Regions from separate parts of the Homo sapiens genome. Here all the other regions are linked to region 3. The links are contacts of gene promoters, found by promoter capture Hi-C in human tissues and cell types (Jung and others, 2019). All regions are on one chromosome and are shown on one strand. Each heading gives the region's core, a stretch centred on a gene start or on the middle of the fragment in contact. The rest is flanking DNA. Distances are from core to core; before and after follow the strand shown. Region 1 overlaps CFAP61 (cilia and flagella associated protein 61). Region 2 overlaps RALGAPA2 (Ral GTPase activating protein catalytic subunit alpha 2). Region 3 holds the start of INSM1 (INSM transcriptional repressor 1).

Evidence for each region. The method cuts DNA at HindIII sites, captures the fragments that hold promoters and counts their contacts. A contact is called where the count stands out against the background at its distance.
Region 1: a fragment that was not itself captured here is called in contact with the fragment with the promoter of INSM1 in region 3 in 1 of the 25 tissues and cell types used here (spleen).
Region 2: a fragment that was not itself captured here is called in contact with the fragment with the promoter of INSM1 in region 3 in 4 of the 25 tissues and cell types used here (H1 embryonic stem cells, dorsolateral prefrontal cortex, hippocampus and 1 more).

Annotation. Positions count from the first base shown.
Region 1 is chr20:20,308,451-20,312,755 of GRCh38, forward strand. All of the region lies in intron 25 of CFAP61 (cilia and flagella associated protein 61), which reads left to right. Among named protein-coding and RNA genes, the nearest start is that of CFAP61-AS1, 43 kb to the left of the region's middle. The HindIII fragment of the contact is 6,749 bases long and covers 1-4,305 here.
Region 2 is chr20:20,406,363-20,410,336 of GRCh38, forward strand. All of the region lies in intron 38 of RALGAPA2 (Ral GTPase activating protein catalytic subunit alpha 2), which reads right to left. Among named protein-coding and RNA genes, the nearest start is that of INSM1, 40 kb to the left of the region's middle. The HindIII fragment of the contact is 3,302 bases long and covers 910-3,974 here.
Region 3 is chr20:20,365,519-20,369,746 of GRCh38, forward strand. It overlaps INSM1 (INSM transcriptional repressor 1), which reads left to right and starts at 2,586. Exons shown (of 1, transcript NM_002196.3): 1 at 2,586-4,228. The coding sequence starts at 2,750. RefSeq lists an enhancer at 1,679-2,449. The HindIII fragment of the contact is 4,823 bases long and covers 164-4,228 here.

The DNA.
Region 1 (4,305 bases), core at 1,421-3,920, 57 kb before region 3:
GGGGAAGGGGGCTGGTGTGGGGGAAGGGGCGGAGCAGGTAAGCTTTCTGGGGCACTTGGTCACTCTGCAGGCCTTGCAAGGGACACTCGGCCTTGCTGGGTGAGATAAAAATTCTGTCTTGCCCTATGCTTATACTTGTTTCAAGCTCAGCTGGCCAACCCCAGGCAGCCTGGCACTTCCCTGCCAGAGTTATGAAGACAACCTTGATTACTAACATACTGTCTTGTTGTCAGAGCCCAAGTCTTGATTTGGGGTTTAGGAATGCTGACTGGTAGGTTCAGAACTGACTTCCATCCCTCTGCACATCTTCGTAAAATCGCTGTTCTTTTCAAACTTGTACAGCAGGAGTTAAAGTCCTTTATAGATTTTCTTCCTCCATTTCATTACATACCCATCTGGCAGCATGTGGTTGAAGGTTATTACTTATGAGTTTAAAATAATAGCTGATGAGCCGTGGTTATCTTTAAGGCTACTAAGCTGCTTTAATATAAATACCTCTTTGCCGAACTCCAAGAAACAACGGAGTTGTTTTACTGTTGTTGGAACTGTGAAAATAAATGCATTTCAGAAATCATGTTCTCATTCTACTGAGCCACGAGAAGGAACTGGCCTGCCTGCCTAAATTTTTTATGGCAAACTAACAATTGCAAAGAGACGCTTTGAAGCCACCTGGGCAGTAGGGATTCACAGGTGCAGCATTCTCCTTCTTTCCCTCCTACACCTGAGTCTTTATAGGTTTCTTTTTGAGGGTTATTTAAGCATATTTGTTTAATTTTTAAAAATTTCCACTCCAAAAGCAATATGTGTTTATTACAGAAAATGCAGAAAAATATTTCAAAAGCCGAGTAGAATATAAAATCTATACCTAATCCCACCACCCAGAACCTATTTTAGATGATTGCACTATGAAATGAAAAGAATTGAAGGGGAACTGCGATTTCCTCCTAGAAATAAGACCTGCAGCAAGCTTGCAGACAGCACAGCTCTCCTTCCTGGGTGCCAGGCAGACCCTAACTGCAGCCCCGCACACCTGTCTCGTACAGGTGAGGCAAGGGAGAACCAGAGTGGCCGGGCTTTCCACGTGCCACAACCAAGACAGTGGCACCAATAGGACCAGAACCAGAGTTTCCTGACTTTCTGTCAAGTTTCCTTCATACAGGACAAATAGGAGTAGGTTTGCCATCATGCAATGACCATTCTTTAGTAAAAGCAGTTGTTGTGTTTGACTCATCATTTACCTATTATAAGAAGATTGGCCAAAAAAAAAATTATGTTTGGGACAGGAGAATAATTTTGCTCTCTGATAAAATACCTCAGAAGATGCCCAGGATAATTCATGTGTGGAGGAAGAAAATATTAGAACTTCTGTTTATAATTTTATCTTTAAAAAAAAAACAGAAATCATGTTTTATTAGTATTCAAAGCACACGCATGGGTGCCCTCTTGGGTCAGATGGAAGACAGCTGTGCATTCTACATGGCCTCAACACACCATAATGGGACAGTGTCACAGCTTGGAGGGGTCAACCTTATTAATTAACTTTGTTTTTGTTTTTGTTTTTTGAGATGGAGTCTCGCTCTGTCACCCAGGCTGGAGCACAATGACACAATCTCAGCTCACTGCAACCTCCACCTCCCTGGTTCAAGTGATTCTCCTGCCTCAGTCTCCTGAGTAGCTGGGTAGCAGGCATGTGCTACCACACCCTGCTAATTTTTGTATTTTTAGTAGAGACGGGGTTTCACCATGTTGCCCAGACTGGTCTCAAACTCCTGATCTCAGATGATCCACCTGCCTCAGCCTCCCAGAGTGCTGGGACTACCACCACACCCAGCCCTTATTAGTTAACTTTGGAACCTACTGCAGCTTTTGTGTATCTGGTTCTGGTTTTAACTAAACTAACCCTCCACAAAATTGACATGAGCATTTAACGGATTGTTCAAAAGAAACTACAGAATGCAAAGCCTGGCAAAGCAGACACACATGAACCAGGAAAGGGCAGGGCCAGATCATCTCCTCTTCCTCAGCCACACTGTAAGTACCATGGTTCGTCTCTCAGCTAAGGTTCCACTGCAGACAGCAGAATCCTCTCTAGCTGGTTTAAACAGAAAGCAATATACTGCCAGTTATGGGTGCTTTATACAATTCCTTCAATGGGCTGGAGGAGCAGGCTTTAGACTGCCTTCCACGAAAAATTCAGAAAATGGCTCCGCAGACCTAGCCAATCTCTGCCACAGTGAGGAATTTGTGGAACTGAGAAACTGCCACAAAAGTTGCCAGCTCCATGACCAATCCTCTCTGGCAAAATCCACACCAGCAAAATGGGTACACTAAGCCCTGATTTCTGCCCCCTTCTGCTACAGCTGACACCAAATACTGCCACAGCCAGGCTTGCCAGCAAAAGCAAGAAATGCAGTGGAAGCACCTCCTCAGGGTGTTCCATGGAGTGAGGGAGAGTCCCTCCTCAGGGTGTTTTATAGAGTGGAGGCAGAATCTCCACCTCATGGTGTTCATGTCCATCGTCCACGTCCTGCACAGGGCTGTCTCTTTGGATGAAACTCAGTCCCATGTAGAACCTACACTGGACATGAGTCTGGAAATTGTAGTCTTTCCCTTCCCGGCCTGTGATATTTTGGCTAAATCATGCTACACAGTATCTTGAGTGTGGCTGGCTGAAACAGTCTACAGTATCTCTCATAGCTAACTAATCAACCTTGACCAGAAGTCAGCCCCCACAAAATGCAAAACTATCAAGAAGACTCTGGAGTTTGTATTTATATCTACTACCAGTGAGGATGATGGTTCTAATAATATACAGGTCCACAAAACCCTTATCCAAAATCCTAGGAGCAGATGTTGTGGAATTCTATAACTTTTTTCAAATTTTGGGAGGAACCAGACTTACCCTCCCACATGAAACAACTAAATAGCTGCCAAAATGTAAGAAACAAATTTTTAAAAAAGATATTAGACATCAGGCAATGAAGGACTGTGATCTTTGAGAGATGGGAAACAAAGAAGGTGAACCCTGTGGTTGATCCAGCTGACGGCCTTGAGAGAGTTCCCAGGCCACAGCAAGGGGAAGCAGAGCCCATGCAGAGTCCTGAGTGGAGGAGAGGGAGCCGAGAGTCCGGGGAGACCAAGGCAGGTGGAGTTGTCAGGACAGAGGGAGAGGGAGCTGAGGGTCCGGGGAGACCAAGGCAGGTGGAGTTGTCAGGACAGAGTACTGGAGAGGAGAAGGTTGCACAGAGAGAGAAGCTTGGAGATGTGCAGAAGCCTCCCCTGGGAGCATTCAGTTGAGTACTGGTCAGTCCATGTGGGCAAGGAAACTGCCCAAGACAGGGGAAAGAACCACTCTAAAGGATTAGAAAAAGCATGACAGTGTCTAATACTCACACAAGGCTGGGAACGCTGCCTGTTCCCACCAGCCAGACTTGAGAACTTTAAGATTAATGAGGCAATAGGTAGGGTACACAAAAGGGACTCATCTCAGTAGCAGGGAATAATTAGTCCTAAACCAAACATTGCTGCAGTCCGACTTAATAAATCTTGAAAGCAAGACATGAATGTATCAAATGCTTTCCAAGTAACTTATCTACATCTGAAAACAAGTTTAAGAGTGTTTATAGGAATACTGAAAATTTCCACACCTAACAAAATGATACAATTTCTGATACCTAATCAAAAAATTACTGAGAAGGCAAAGAAACAAGAAAATACAACCCATAATGAGGAGAAAAATCAATCAACAAAACCAACCCAGAACTGACTCAGATGTTAGAATTAGCAGACAAGTATGTTGAAACAGCTATTATAACTGTTACTATAACTGCATTCCATGTGATTAAAAAGTTAAGATGTGGAAAACACATAAAAGACCCAAATCAAACTTTTAGAGATGAAAACTACAATGTCTGAGACAAGAACTACCCTGGATGGGCTTAGTTGCAGATTAGACCTCGCTGGGAAAAGGGTAAGTGAACTTGAAGACATAACAATTGAAACTGCCCAAAATAAAACACACAGAGGAAAAAGAATATAAAACCATGAACAGGGTATCAGTGAGGAATGGGACAACTTCAAGTGGCCTAAAGAAATAACGACCAAAATTTTTCCAAATTTGATGAAAACTCACAAATCTGAGAAGCTCAGTGAATCTCAAGCATAAAAAAAAATGAAGAAAACTATGCCAAGGCATATCATAATCAAACTACTCAAAACCCACAATAAAGAGAAAGTCTTAAAAGCAACAAAAGACACGGGCACATTCTTTACAGACGAATAAGATGAAAATGACAACAGATTTCT
Region 2 (3,974 bases), core at 1,311-3,810, 41 kb after region 3:
TCTTTCCAAGAAGAATACATCTTAAATTGGAAAAAAATCAAAGCAAAAGTGGTCAGAATCAAGCCGGTTATGAGGGAAGGAAGACTTGGGCTGTGTCCAGAAGGGATTATGGGGGTAGAAGAAACATCTGTCCAAGGCAGTTGTCTGTAGGACATGTGGCAACACTTTGGCCAGCTACAGCCAAGTGTGCTGAGGGTGCTGAGTGGGATGGCTGAGTTATTGAATAGATGGTCATATAAGATAGTTTGTATTTAAGGAAAACTTTTGGGTCAGGTGCAGTGGCACACACCTGTAATCCTAGTACTTTGGGAGGCTGAGGTGGGCAGATCGCTTGAACCCAGGAGTTCAAGACCAGCCTGGGTAACATGGTGAACCCCTGTCTCTATAAGAAATACAGAAATTAGCTGCATGTGGTGGCTTATGCCTGTAGTTCCAGCTACTCAGGAGGCTGAGGCTAGAGGATTGCTCGAGCCTGGGACGGGAAGGATGCAGTGGGCTGTGCTCACACCAATGCAATCCAGGCCTGGGCGACAGAGTGAGACCAAAAGGGAAAACTTCTGTATTATCTGAATAGAGTAAAATTTGACTCTGGCCTTTAGTATGAATAAAGAGCTGGTAGCTACGGCTCTGATTATGGGATTATCACTATAGGGTGGGCACAGGGCTGGCATTTCCATGTGAAATGGGGAGGTGAAGATTGAGTTGGCACTGATTCCAACTTGCCCATGACCTTCGGTGGTCCCTTCCTGGGTTGGTCTTCAGCTTGCTCCAAATTAATGTGACAGGGTTAGACATGATCTTTCCTGAAGTCCCTTCTAGTTCAACATTCTATGATGTTCTTTGCTGGCTTCAGCAAAGTTATGGGGAAGCTGAACACATACAATTCAAAAGAAGCACTATTAATTAAAACCGTATTAAGACCACTTTAACAGGGAGGGAATGAATATGAATGTGATGAGTCTGTCACATGACTATCCTTTCAATGAGCGGGGAAACTCTTTTTGGTGGTTTGGGTTAGGATTTACTTGTGCTGTTTCTGGGAATTAACTTGATTATTAACTGCCCAGTGAAACGGCCAAGGAAGACTGCCTGTCAGGACTGCATGCGGAATGACGAGCTGCATATGGCGCGGAGGCCTTAGCAAGCAAAAGCTGGGTGTAGCCATATCCCTCTGGGCAAAGGCTGGTGAGTTCTAAGAGGAGTTTGTGTAGTGTCTACATCTCAGATTTGCTTTGGGGCGAATGTGTAACATAAGTGCCTCCATCTGCAGTTTTAGGAGAAGATTTTATTGGCCACCAAAATGACTCAGTGACACCAGGCAGAGTCTTCTGGCAAAGGTTCTGCAAACTTAACATAACGACTGTGTTGTAGAAGAAAAGCTACAGAAGTCTTTTTCATTAGGTAAGTGGCAATAATAACCCTTTCCACGAGGGCATCCAAGCAATTGTGTGAAAGATGAAAGTTTGCAGTTTTGTGCAGTAGCAGGAATGGCAGTGGCATCCTAAGACCGACTCAGACTAATCTGGTTTAAGCTCCAAATACGACCTACATTAAAAGTGGCAGACTCTGATGAAGCATAGTGAGGAATTTTCTCCCACTTGTTCTAAATCCTGGAGCCTTGACAATCCAGCCTATCATAAAGGAGGAAGTATTTCTGACCATATCTTGGAGAAATCAAATGCTGTGTTTATGCAGGGCTAACAAATAAACAAAGACCTGTGCTCCCTCTGCTGGCTCTCTATAGCAATATTGAAGCAGAAAGGAACCATACGTAGTATTGGCATCTTCAGCAAACACAAGTCAGTTTGGGTATTCCGAGAAGAACCACTCATTTAACTTGGTTTTGAACATTCTTTGAGAAAAATCTATCAACTTCTGACAAAGGCACTTGGAAATTCTTAAAATTAGATATTAAATGAGACATACCTGTAGCCCTTGGCTACCAGATTGCTAGCTGTGACCGTAATAGTGATCTGGGGATTGATTGATCAACAGACACAAGTGGATTCCTCCAAAATTTTTAGATCCAGACACAATCTTTAAGGCAGTTCTGAAAAAAATCTCAGGTCCAATGTAAAGTTCCTTTTTTTCTCTTTTATAAGAGCAACTTCTAAAAAGCAAAGATTTACACTATTTATATCTTTTCTGATAATGTCAAACACTAGACTTGATTTTCCAAATCATTAGCATGCAGAAGAATGACCTCATGGTGAACAGATGCACTTGGCTGTGAGCTGCAGTGATTACATCAGTCCCTCCCAGCAGTCGAGGGTGCCCATTCCAGTTAACCCTTTCAAGGCCTCTCTGCCGGTCCCTCTTTCTTGGTGATATGATTGAAAGCACAAATTTAGTCCCCCACCCCAATATGTGTGTGTGTGTGAGAGAGAAATGTATATGTGTATATAAATGTATTTATACATAAAACATATATATGTTAATTGCAACCAATATTTTAATACTGGCTACATTTTAGATTATTTAATGCTGGTCAAAAAAGGAAGGTAAACTATAGTGCTAGGTAAAAAAGTAGTTGAAATATCTTTACATGTCAGGTGTTATCAATACAAGTAATGGATGGAATAGATACAAGGTAGATACGATGGTCTTTAAAAATATTTTCTCATTAGGAAAATAGATTTTGTTTTGAAAGCTCTTTGAAAAATGCCGAGCGCTCATATATTAGCAGCTACACCACCATGTGTGGTTGACGGCGCATCCTGAACGCAAGCCTGTTCACCTGGCCAACCCACCCCCGCAGGGCTTGTTGGGCGGATGGGTAACAGCACCTGGATGGGGAGAGTCAGAAGCAGAGGGCATTTTCCAACAGTGGAAGCTTCAGGCACAGGCCATTCCCACCGAGTGCATCTCCCACTTTTACTTCAGACTTAAAGGCTGATTTTGGGGCTTTCCCTCTAGAAGTGGGGGCTGCATGCTGCTTTCTGGCTTGCTGCTACCAATACAGTGCAGAATGAATGCAGTGTTCAGGTGATGCTCCCTCTTCATTAATAATAAAGTCCTGGTGGTGAGGATACAAAGAAAACCTAGGAGCCCCTAATTCCTCAGATTGTGCATACGCATGTGAGCCCAAGCCCAAGGCCCTGCTTTGATGACACTGAGGGCCAGAGATGGTCTGATTGGGTCCTAAGTGCACTGTGGGAGCTTAAGCCGCTCAGGGTCAATTTTTCCAGTTGGCTTGTTGCTTGGAAGAACAGACTTCACCTCAATTTCTTAGTTTAAGCTGGCTGGCTCATCTGGGTTTGATCGCCCTTGTCCCAAGAACATAACAGTGTAAACAAATGACAAATGTTTTCATCTGTAGAAGTAGTAACAGATAGTGGACAGGGATTCCTCAAAAGCGAAGCCAGTATGTAAGCTAGAAGATGCTTCCGAAAACGTGCTTGTCTATGGTGCTGAAATGCTCTGTCCTCATTGTACTGCCCCACATTTCAGTTCAAATCAAGATTATATCTAGTTCATTCCTACTCAGCGTTATGAGAAGATATGCAAAGAATTAAAACAGAACATTATGCCTAGACTTAAAAATCACACTTAAGGATAGGCATGATAGACGTATAAAAATGTTTCCCACTCAACACTGAATTCCTTAAACCATGAACACTATGAAATGTAATACTGATGTTAATAATTTGAAAAGCGGAGGGAGTAGCATTTGTCTTGATATTCCATGTTTGGTTTCACGTTCCTTTTAGAAGAGTTCCAATGCCCACCCTCACATGCTGTCAGAATCTTCATTCTGCTAAGCAATTTTCAAAAATATGACGTTCTTGAAGAAGCCTATTGACAATCCTCTCCAAGTAGAGTTCTTAAAAACTCAAATTGCTCCTAGAATCTCACTCATTTCTATTGGTTTAAATAATTATGGATGTTTGGAAAAGATCAAATTAGTTTATACAGAGGCTAAAATATACATAGAAAACAAAGTCCATCATTATTCATTTTGATAATATCTTAAT
Region 3 (4,228 bases), core at 1,336-3,835:
CCCCGGGTGGTGAAATTAGTTTCCAATACTAGTACCTTTCAAGTTTCCATTTATTTTGACTGTACCCGTCTGAAAGCAGATTTCATTTACGCTAGCAAGACTGGAAGCCACAAATAAAGAAAAAGAAACGGATTCATTGAATCTCAGTATCTCAGTAGCGTTTAATAGATTCCCTTGGCTAAATTCAGAGCCCTGTTTGAATTCACTCACGCAGGAGTTGTTTTGTTTTTTTTGTTGGTAGAGGTGCCGGTTTCCCATCCCCACGGCTTATTTACAATTATGGGTGTTGTTATTTTTAAAGGATTCACAAGGTGACTAACTCTCTGTTATCTGTTGAATGGAAGGAGTGTTACATATGCAAGACCGAATGGGGCAGGCCGAGCCCCCGCCCTATGCTATTCTACAATCCAGATGGGATTCGTGATTAGAAAATAAAATTGGCCAAAGCTGTCTCGGAATCCTTTTCCCACTTCTAATTTCATCAGCACTATTAATCAGAGCTCAAAAGAGCAAGGAAATAACATCAGTTACTTTTAGATAGAAATATGTTTATAAATTTTAGATAAACTCATTTTAAGATTTCTAACTTTTGGGGAGACTAGCACTCACCACAGCATTTTTAAAACTAGGGTGAGACTTTTCAAAATATATTTCACTATATGCATTCTTCCCTTTTCAGTGTGTGAGTTAAAATATTACAAACATAAAATTATCAAATATCTTTCCCTTGATTAACCAACCTGATTAACCCCTTAATTAATTAAGCCTAACAACTGTCCCCATCACAACTTATGACTCATGTGGACTCTATTTTTACATGTTTAATTTCTACGCCAGGGTATTTTCAGAGGGAAAATCCAAAACAATTAAATACCTTCAGTGGAATTAAGCGTAAGTAAAACTCAGCAAAATCTGTCTGGTATACAAAGCTTTGCAGAAAAATGTTTCCTTCTCTTTCAATAAAGTGACATTTTCCTCACAGCATATGACATTTTATGTGGCTTGGCTATTTGTTCCCCAGTGTTGGACGATCAGGGCCACTACGCACTCGTGGGGTTCTCTGCCCTGTCCCCCGAAGATTCTGCCTTTTGTGTTTCCTCGGGGCTGGGCTGGACAGAGGATGGAGGCAGGCGGCCCAGTCTGGGTCCAAACGGAACGGCAGCGGAGGTGGGGGTGGGGGTGGGGGCGGGGGGAATCTTCGCTGTTGTCTCTTCCTGGTGGCACAGGGGAGGCGGCTTGTCCTCTCGGAGGCCTCAGCCTGCCTCAGAGTACAGATTGCCCCCCCTCCCCCCGTCCAGCACGCGTCTCTTTTGCGTCCAGATTGGCCGCGACCGGAGCTCAATAGCAGGAGGTTAATTTCCTTCACAAAGGTGAAGGGGGCACGGCTCCGTGGGGGCTGCGCCCAGACAGGCAGCCCCTTTATTTCGCAGCGCCTTGATTGGAGCCCTTGATTTAGCATCTGATGTCAACCGGCAAACAAAATGCCCGCTCGGAATGAAAATGCATGAGGCCGCGCGGGGAGGAGAAAGCCAACTTCACTGGGGCGCACGAGGCCGACCGCGCGTTTCGGGCTTCGGCCAACTCGACCCGGATTAACCGAGCCTTGGACCACGCGGAAGCTCCGGGCGGCCTGGGTCGGGCCCCGCCAAAGATGCCATTCCCAAGCCTCCAAGAACCCAAAAGTTCAGAAATTCACGTTCCTCTGGGAACCCAGCCCAGCCCGCCCGCGCTCCAATCCCGCGCTTTCGGGAGACTGAGAAGGCCGTGCCAATTCCTTCTCAAACTCGAAAGAAACCTTCTCTAGCCCCGTGGGCGCGCGGAGGCTGCGAGCACAAACATCGCCCTCGGCCACTGCCAGAAGGCCGGGCCCCCTGTCCACACTTGGAACCCCGGGGAACCCTTTTGCTTGGCCTCTTGGGTCCAGCGGCCCATCCGTCCAAGGTCCGGGCGGAGGCCGTCCGGACCCTGCTGCTCTCTCGGATTCTTGTTTATTTCCCAAACACCACGCGGAGCCACTGCGCCTCCGCAACGATCTCCCCCGCACCGCCCCGGCGCGCCCCCGCCCCCACCCAATCAGCGCGCACAACTTCCCCCTCGGCTCCGGCTCGCGGATTGAACCCTCCTGACATATTTGGGGCCATTCTTCTCCTTTGTTGCTATTTTGCTAGCGACCCGCGGGTAATCCCCGCGCGGGAGGGGGGCGTGCATTGTCGCGCTGATGGACGGGCCCATTTGGCGGCTCCGCGCCCCCCGGAGGAGAGACACAAAGCCCAGGCACGTGCGCCTCCCCATAGAGAAGCAGCAGACCGTGAAGGGAGGCGGGGCCGGGCGTGTGCCTGGACCGGGCGGGGCGGCGGCGCCGGGCGGGGCGACCAGGGGCGCGCGCGGGGGCCCCGCGCCCTCAGGTACATCTGCCGCACCTACCGGGCGACCCCCGAGTCCCGGCCCCCTTTTGGCCGCCCCATCGCCCTCCCACCCTGCCAGGCTGAGGAGCTGCGGACGCGCTGATTGGCTCCAGGGGAAGCGGGAGGCGAGAACAATGGCCCCCTCCCCCCGTTAAAAGGGAGCGGCTGCCGGGCCCGGGGACAGGGACGCGCGTGCAGGGCGCAGAGCTGGGCCGAGCCGTCGCCGGCGCCACGCGAGTCCCGCAGCCGCCGCGCCCGGGCAATGGGCCGGGGGCACTGAGGGCCGCCGGGGCCGAGCGCGGAGGGGGGACCGAGCCAGTGCCGTGCCCTCGGGCCGCGCCAACATGCCCCGCGGCTTCCTGGTGAAGCGCAGCAAGAAGTCCACGCCCGTTTCCTACCGGGTCCGCGGCGGCGAGGACGGCGACCGCGCACTGCTGCTCTCGCCCAGCTGCGGGGGCGCCCGCGCCGAGCCCCCGGCGCCGAGCCCGGTCCCCGGGCCGCTGCCGCCGCCGCCGCCCGCGGAGCGCGCCCATGCAGCGCTCGCCGCCGCGCTTGCCTGCGCGCCTGGGCCGCAGCCACCCCCGCAGGGCCCGCGGGCCGCGCACTTCGGCAACCCCGAGGCTGCGCACCCCGCGCCGCTCTACAGTCCCACGCGGCCCGTGAGCCGCGAGCACGAGAAGCACAAGTACTTCGAACGCAGCTTCAACCTGGGCTCGCCGGTCTCGGCCGAGTCCTTCCCCACGCCCGCCGCGCTGCTCGGAGGGGGCGGCGGCGGCGGCGCGAGCGGAGCTGGCGGAGGCGGCACCTGCGGCGGCGACCCGCTGCTCTTCGCGCCCGCCGAGCTCAAGATGGGCACGGCGTTCTCGGCTGGCGCCGAGGCGGCCCGCGGCCCGGGCCCCGGCCCCCCACTGCCCCCTGCCGCCGCCCTGCGGCCCCCGGGAAAGCGGCCCCCGCCCCCTACCGCCGCGGAGCCGCCCGCCAAGGCAGTCAAGGCCCCGGGCGCCAAGAAGCCCAAGGCCATCCGCAAGCTGCACTTCGAGGACGAGGTGACCACGTCGCCCGTGCTGGGGCTCAAGATCAAGGAGGGCCCGGTGGAGGCGCCGCGGGGCCGCGCGGGGGGCGCGGCGCGGCCGCTGGGCGAGTTCATCTGCCAGCTGTGCAAGGAGGAGTACGCCGACCCGTTCGCGCTGGCGCAGCACAAATGCTCGCGCATCGTGCGTGTGGAGTACCGCTGTCCCGAGTGCGCCAAGGTCTTCAGCTGCCCGGCCAACCTGGCCTCGCACCGCCGCTGGCACAAACCGCGGCCCGCGCCCGCCGCCGCCCGCGCGCCGGAGCCAGAAGCAGCAGCCAGGGCTGAGGCGCGGGAGGCACCCGGCGGCGGCAGCGACCGGGACACGCCGAGCCCCGGCGGCGTGTCCGAGTCGGGCTCCGAGGACGGGCTCTACGAGTGCCATCACTGCGCCAAGAAGTTCCGCCGCCAGGCCTACCTACGCAAGCACCTGCTGGCGCACCACCAGGCGCTGCAGGCCAAGGGCGCGCCGCTAGCGCCCCCGGCCGAGGACCTACTGGCCTTGTACCCCGGGCCCGACGAGAAGGCGCCCCAGGAGGCGGCCGGCGACGGCGAGGGGGCCGGCGTGCTGGGCCTGAGTGCGTCCGCCGAGTGCCACCTGTGCCCAGTGTGCGGAGAGTCGTTCGCCAGCAAGGGCGCTCAGGAGCGCCACCTGCGCCTGCTGCACGCCGCCCAGGTGTTCCCCTGCAAGTACTGCCCGGCCACCTTCTACAGCTCGCCCGGCCTTACGCGGCACATCAACAAGTGCCACCCA